Regions from separate parts of the Homo sapiens genome. Here region 1 is linked to region 2. The links are contacts of gene promoters, found by promoter capture Hi-C in human tissues and cell types (Jung and others, 2019). All regions are on one chromosome and are shown on one strand. Each heading gives the region's core, a stretch centred on a gene start or on the middle of the fragment in contact. The rest is flanking DNA. Distances are from core to core; before and after follow the strand shown.

What was found. The method cuts DNA at HindIII sites, captures the fragments that hold promoters and counts their contacts. A contact is called where the count stands out against the background at its distance.
Region 1: a fragment that was not itself captured here is called in contact with the fragment with the promoter of D2HGDH in region 2 in 1 of the 25 tissues and cell types used here (lymphoblastoid cells).

Annotation. Positions count from the first base shown.
Region 1 is chr2:241,273,148-241,275,847 of GRCh38, forward strand. The region is part of intron 1 of HDLBP (high density lipoprotein binding protein); the gene reads right to left. It overlaps HDLBP-AS1 (HDLBP antisense RNA 1), which reads left to right. Exons shown (of 2, transcript NR_168372.1): 1 at 1-537; 2 at 856-2,700. Among named protein-coding and RNA genes, the nearest start is that of HDLBP-AS1, 2.3 kb to the left of the region's middle. The HindIII fragment of the contact is 8,748 bases long and covers 1-2,700 here.
Region 2 is chr2:241,733,360-241,736,059 of GRCh38, forward strand. It overlaps D2HGDH (D-2-hydroxyglutarate dehydrogenase), which reads left to right and starts at 1,271. Exons shown (of 10, transcript NM_152783.5): 1 at 1,271-1,336; 2 at 1,774-2,157. The coding sequence starts at 1,866. RefSeq lists silencers at 798-847, 888-1,937, 1,948-2,057 and an enhancer at 2,098-2,337. The HindIII fragment of the contact is 17,644 bases long and covers 1-2,700 here.

The sequences.
Region 1 (2,700 bases), core at 138-2,637, 460 kb before region 2:
CACCTCCCCAAAATCAGAAGAAAAACCTCAAAGGATGCCCACCACATCGTAAACGGATGGCCACACTGGCACGAGGTCCTACAGCGCAGTGAGGCTCCCAGGCGGCTCCAGGGCTTTCATTCCCTCATTCCTGCGTGCCTATTCCTTATGTCCCTCACTTTTATAAACTATCCCCACCCGATTCCTTGGCAATCAACTTAATCTCCCCCCCAAAATGTAAAATCCCCTTCCTTTAAAGCGTGTATTACTTATGGCTCCATCTCTACATAGATGTATACACGCAAAAGAACCGGTGTGTGGCCTCTGAGCCCACGGTGGATACGCAGGACTGGGCGGAACGGAATCCCTACTCTCGGGGTCTCCACCCTCCGGGAAGGACTTGTCACTTCTGCATCCATTGTGTTTACTAAGTGATAACTGCCACTGTTTCTTTTAAGGGTATAAAGGGAGTCGAGCAATCTGTAGAGATGTCAGTCTGAACCTCTGGCAAAGTCGCAGGTCAACAGAATCCTGCATAGGGCACAGGATCAACTACAGGTATCTGGGGACAAGACCGTCCCACACAGGGGAAGAGGTAGGGGCACACCCAGCCTTACCCAGGGAATGGGGTCAGGTCCGCACAGCCTGCAGCCAGGCCACGGGTGCTGTTGAGGATGGTGGGAGCTGGGTGGGGGCTGCAAGCAGCAGAAGGCAGGATCAGACGTGTTTTTTTTTTTTTCGTGGAACACTGACACTAAGTGGCAGGGGAGGGGAGGGCAGGGGAGGCCTACTATAGTTCAGTCTAAAGATGACAATGGCTTGCATTATGGTGGGCATAATGGAGGAAATAAATGGCCAGATTTGGTATATATTCAGAAAGAAGCACCAAGAAGTTCCTTATTGACCAGAAGAGGGGTGTAAAAGAAGTTAAGAAAGACACAGGTTCTTGGCCTGAGTGACTGGGAAGAGCTGCCCTCACTGAGGTGGGTAAAATTCAAGGAAGACTGGATGGATAAGGGGGTGTGATGCCCTGACTGGGCAGGTGGGGAAGTGGAGCAGGCAACTGTATGTGCAAGGTCAGGGGAAAAGCCTAGGAGCCAGCAGAAATACCATGCACTTCATGACACCACCTAGGGAGGGGAGCAGAATCACAGAAGGCAGAGAACACCTGCGGCTTGACGCAGAGAAGGAGCCAAGGATATCATCAGCAAAGCCGTGCTCTAAGTCAGCAGCACGGAACTGGGCAGGTGGGCCTCCCTAGATGTGGAAATAGGCATTCCCTTCTGTGTCACTGCTGTGGTTTGTTGGTAACCTTTCCGTGGGGATTAACCAATCAGCAACTAGTGCAAGTGTGTTTTTTGTTGCTGTTTTGTTTTTGAGGGCTCAGCACTGCAGAGGGAGATGGAGAAAGAGTAACGGGTAGGGATTCGGTCCGCTGTCAAGGAACTTCCAATAAAGCTAGGAAGTCAGCACAGGCACAGTACCTAGTACACAGGACACCGTAAAGAGTTAGTTTAAAAAACACTGTTAGCAGAAGAGATTACAAAATCATATGCTAACTTTGTGCTAATAACCGTCCAGAATGCTTCTGTGCTGATGCTCACAACCAGCATTTCCTCCCAGCAGGCTTAGCACACTGAAACTAATAAATAGTTCGTAGAAGCAAATTTTAGAAATTCCATGGCTAGCAATATTCAGACCAAATGAAGTGTGAACGTCTGTCTGTGACATTTGAGTTTTCAGCCCTCAAAGGGACGGGGGAGAAGTTTGGGTCTGCTCAAGGTAGGAGGTGAGAAGAGATACCCTCCTATTCCATAAAGTCATGATCCCCAAAAGGGCTACACTTACCAGAAGATAGGTAGATCAAAAAAAGAAGAAGAAAAGCCCACTAGTGTAGAGGGGACTACAGGATGCCTTCTCTGACTATCCTGAGCTGGCAGACAGAAGCATCTCTTGAGCTGTAGGGACAATGGACTAGTACTCTACAACCAAGCCCATTTGTCCAGGAACCCCTAGCCCAAACTGAGATATTAACAAAACAGAAAGCAATTCCCCCCCACCCCGCCTCAGGAAAGAATAAACCTCATACCAGGCTAAAAAGGATACCCACAGATCAGCACAAATGGTAGAGAGGCTAAAAGCCCAAAGCTCAAAAAGAAGGAAGGATGGATTAGAAGTAGGATTAGACTCAAGAACTTCGGGAGACAGAACTAAGATTGAGACAATAAAAAAGCATAAGAGACATAAAGGTGACATTTTAGAAAAAAAATCGAGAGATGGAACGAATGAAAGAGCTAAGAACCATGGAATGAGAAACTCTAACATATGTCTATAACTGGAGTTCCAAAACAAAAAGAGAAAAGAAAAAATCCAAAGAACAGAGAAGAAACATTTTTTAAAATAGCTGAGAAAATTCTAAGATTTAATGATACAACATTCTTCCCTCATCCCAAAAAAGACAGAGAAGGTGTCTAGCAGGATAATTTAAACTAATCCAAATCAAAACACACTACAGAGTAACCTCAGAGCACCAAAGACAAGAGCAGGACCTTAAAAGCAACTAGAGAGAAAAGACAGGTTACTCATAAAGAATACTATGAGACCAAAGGCAGACCACTTAAAACAATACATACCAGAGGATAATGGCTATATATAAATTATGGCGAAAGAAATAACTGTCAATTTGGATTTAAGAATTCTTTTTCATTTAAGAATGAGAAT
Region 2 (2,700 bases), core at 21-2,520:
AAACTCCCACACTCATCTGCAGAGCAAGGGCCAGCCAGGTAGGAAGGGCCAGGTGGATGTCTCCTTTCCAGGGTTGTATGAATGATTCACCTGGGAAGAAGGTGAGTGGCCTCTGGGGATGTGGTTAAGGAGGACAGGAATGACTCCTTGCAACTGCTGCTCCAGAGCCTCATCACCAGGACAAATCCAGCTCGCCGGTTTTCTGTGTGACTACCAGGACCCATCTGCTGTCACGGGCGTAGCCTCCACCTCTTGCACAGCTCCGCAGTCCTGCCTCGGGCCAAGTGTGGTCTCCTGCTCTCTGCCCTCATCTGCTCAGAGATTGGCATCCTCTGCACCCGCTAGGGTTCTATGGAATTGGGTGAGCTGAAGTAACAAGTGCTTTGGGAGGCCGACGCGGGCGGATCGCTTGAGTCCAGGAGTTCGAGACCAGCCTGGGCAGCACATGAGACCTCATCTCTACAAAAATACAACAACAACAAAAAATTAGCCGGGTGTGGTGGTGCACGCCCGTAGTCCCAGCTACTTGGGTGGCCGAGGTGGGAGGATGGTTTGAGCTCGGGAGGCAGAGGTTGCAGTGAGCTGAGATCAACCCCAGAACTCCAGCCTGGGCAACAGAGCTAGACCCTGTCTCAAAAAAACACAAAACAAGTGCTGGCGATGCCTCAGGCAGGGGATCCCAGGCCGGGAGGCTCCTCGGGACAGCAGTTACTGCGTCAGGAGGGCAGGAGCTCCCCAGGTGTGCAAAGGGTTTGAGGGCACGGAGGGCTGAACAGGCAGAAGGGACAGGGAGGCAAGAAAACACCTGCAGGAGGCAGCTGCCCCCTAAGCTAAGGCTGGGGACCCAGGAGGGGTGGTCCGTGCAGGAGCTGGGGAGGCCGCTGGGGAAAGGGGCGCCCCCTGGGCTCGGCCTCGGAGGAGCGGGCCGGCCCCCAGGTCCCTCGGCCGAGCCCACGTCCCGGGCCTCGTTCTGGAGAACCCTCCAGCTGCTGCTTGGGCGTCTTGGGCTGCGCTCAGCCTAGTCCCTTCTCTACCTGGAGGGATGCGCCCGACAGCCGGCGCGCCGGAGGCCCTCAGGAAACGCAGGACGAGGCGGTGGCCGTCGAGCCTCCGGTGCCAGTCGGGGCGGGGCTTGGACGGCGGGGCGGGGACTGTAGGCGCGCAGGGCTGGGCCTGGAGGGCAGGCGGGGCGGGGCCCGTTAGGCGCGCGGGGCGGGGCTTCGGCCGCTGGGCGGAGCCGTCAATGCGCAGGCGCGGCGTCGCCCCGCCCACTCCGGCTCGGCGGCTCTGGGCCTGCGGCGGGCGCTGCGGGTTGGAGCTCGGGACGTGATCGTGGGTGCGTGCGCGCGGCCGCGCGGAGCGCTGGGCTGAGGGTCCCGGTCTGCGGTTCAGCCGCGGGTCGGGGTGGCGGGGCGCGATCTCGGGCGCCGTCAGCCAGTCGGTGCCTGTGGGGGGAGGGGGACGGCGCTGCAGCTCGTCACGTGACCGCGTGGAACACGCGCGCGCGTCCGCGGGATCCCCTCGGGGGGCGAGCTCGGAGGAACGGGGTCCTGGGCAAGGTCCCGGCGAGGCCGCCCCGAGCCTGCGCGTCGCTAAGTCCAGGCCTGCTGCGTGGGGCTTCGCGCGCTCGCGGGGTTGCGGCCCGGGCAGGGGGAGGGCCCGGGTGCTCGGAGCCTTCCCTTCGCTGCCCTCCTGCCCCCTCCCTGCTTCTGCAAGCGTGTTTCAATTTGTACAACGTGCATAAAACATGAAATTACCCTTGGCCACTTCCAGGCGCGCAGCCAGCGGCTCCCTGCCCTTCCCCTCCGGGCCCTGAGTACCGGCCCCCCACCAAGGAGGAGCCCGAGGTCTCCGTCCCGGCGGCGATGCTGCCCCGTCGGCCTCTGGCGTGGCCCGCGTGGCTGTTGCGGGGTGCTCCGGGAGCCGCGGGTTCTTGGGGTCGGCCGGTTGGCCCCCTGGCCCGCAGAGGCTGCTGCTCCGCCCCGGGGACCCCCGAGGTGCCGCTGACCCGGGAGCGCTACCCCGTGCGGCGCTTGCCGTTCTCCACGGTGTCTAAGCAGGACCTGGCCGCCTTTGAGCGCATCGTGCCCGGCGGGGTCGTCACGGACCCGGAAGCGCTGCAGGCTCCCAACGTGGACTGGTTGCGGACGCTGCGAGGTGGGTGAGGCTTGGGAAGCTGCGGCGTTTCCGCGTCCCTGCTCCGCTGCGCCTTCCCGTGGAGGCTTCAAAGCGGGCTGAGAACAACCTGGATGGGGGTGCCAGCCCCTGGCTGCGCTGAGAGGGGCGTGTGCACCGCCACAGGCTGCTGGAATGAATGACCACGAACGAGTCGCTTAGAACAACCCAAGTTTTGTTGTTGTTGTTGTTTTGTTTTTTCTTTTTTTTAAGACGGAGTCTCACTCTGTCGCCAGGCTGGAGTGCAGTCACGGAGTTTCACTCTGTCGCCAGGCCGGAGTGCAGTGGCGCGACGTCGGCTCACTGCCACCTCTGCCTCCCGGGTTCAAGCGATTTGCCTGCCTCAGCCTCCCTAGTAGCTGCGACTACAGGCGCCCGCCACCACGTTCCGCTAATTTTTGTATTTTTAGTAGAGACAGGGTTTCACCATGTTGGCCAGGATGGTCTCGATCTCTTGACCTCGTGATCCGTCCGCCTCGGCTTCCCAAATTGCTGGGATTACAGGCGTGAGCCACCCCGCCCTGC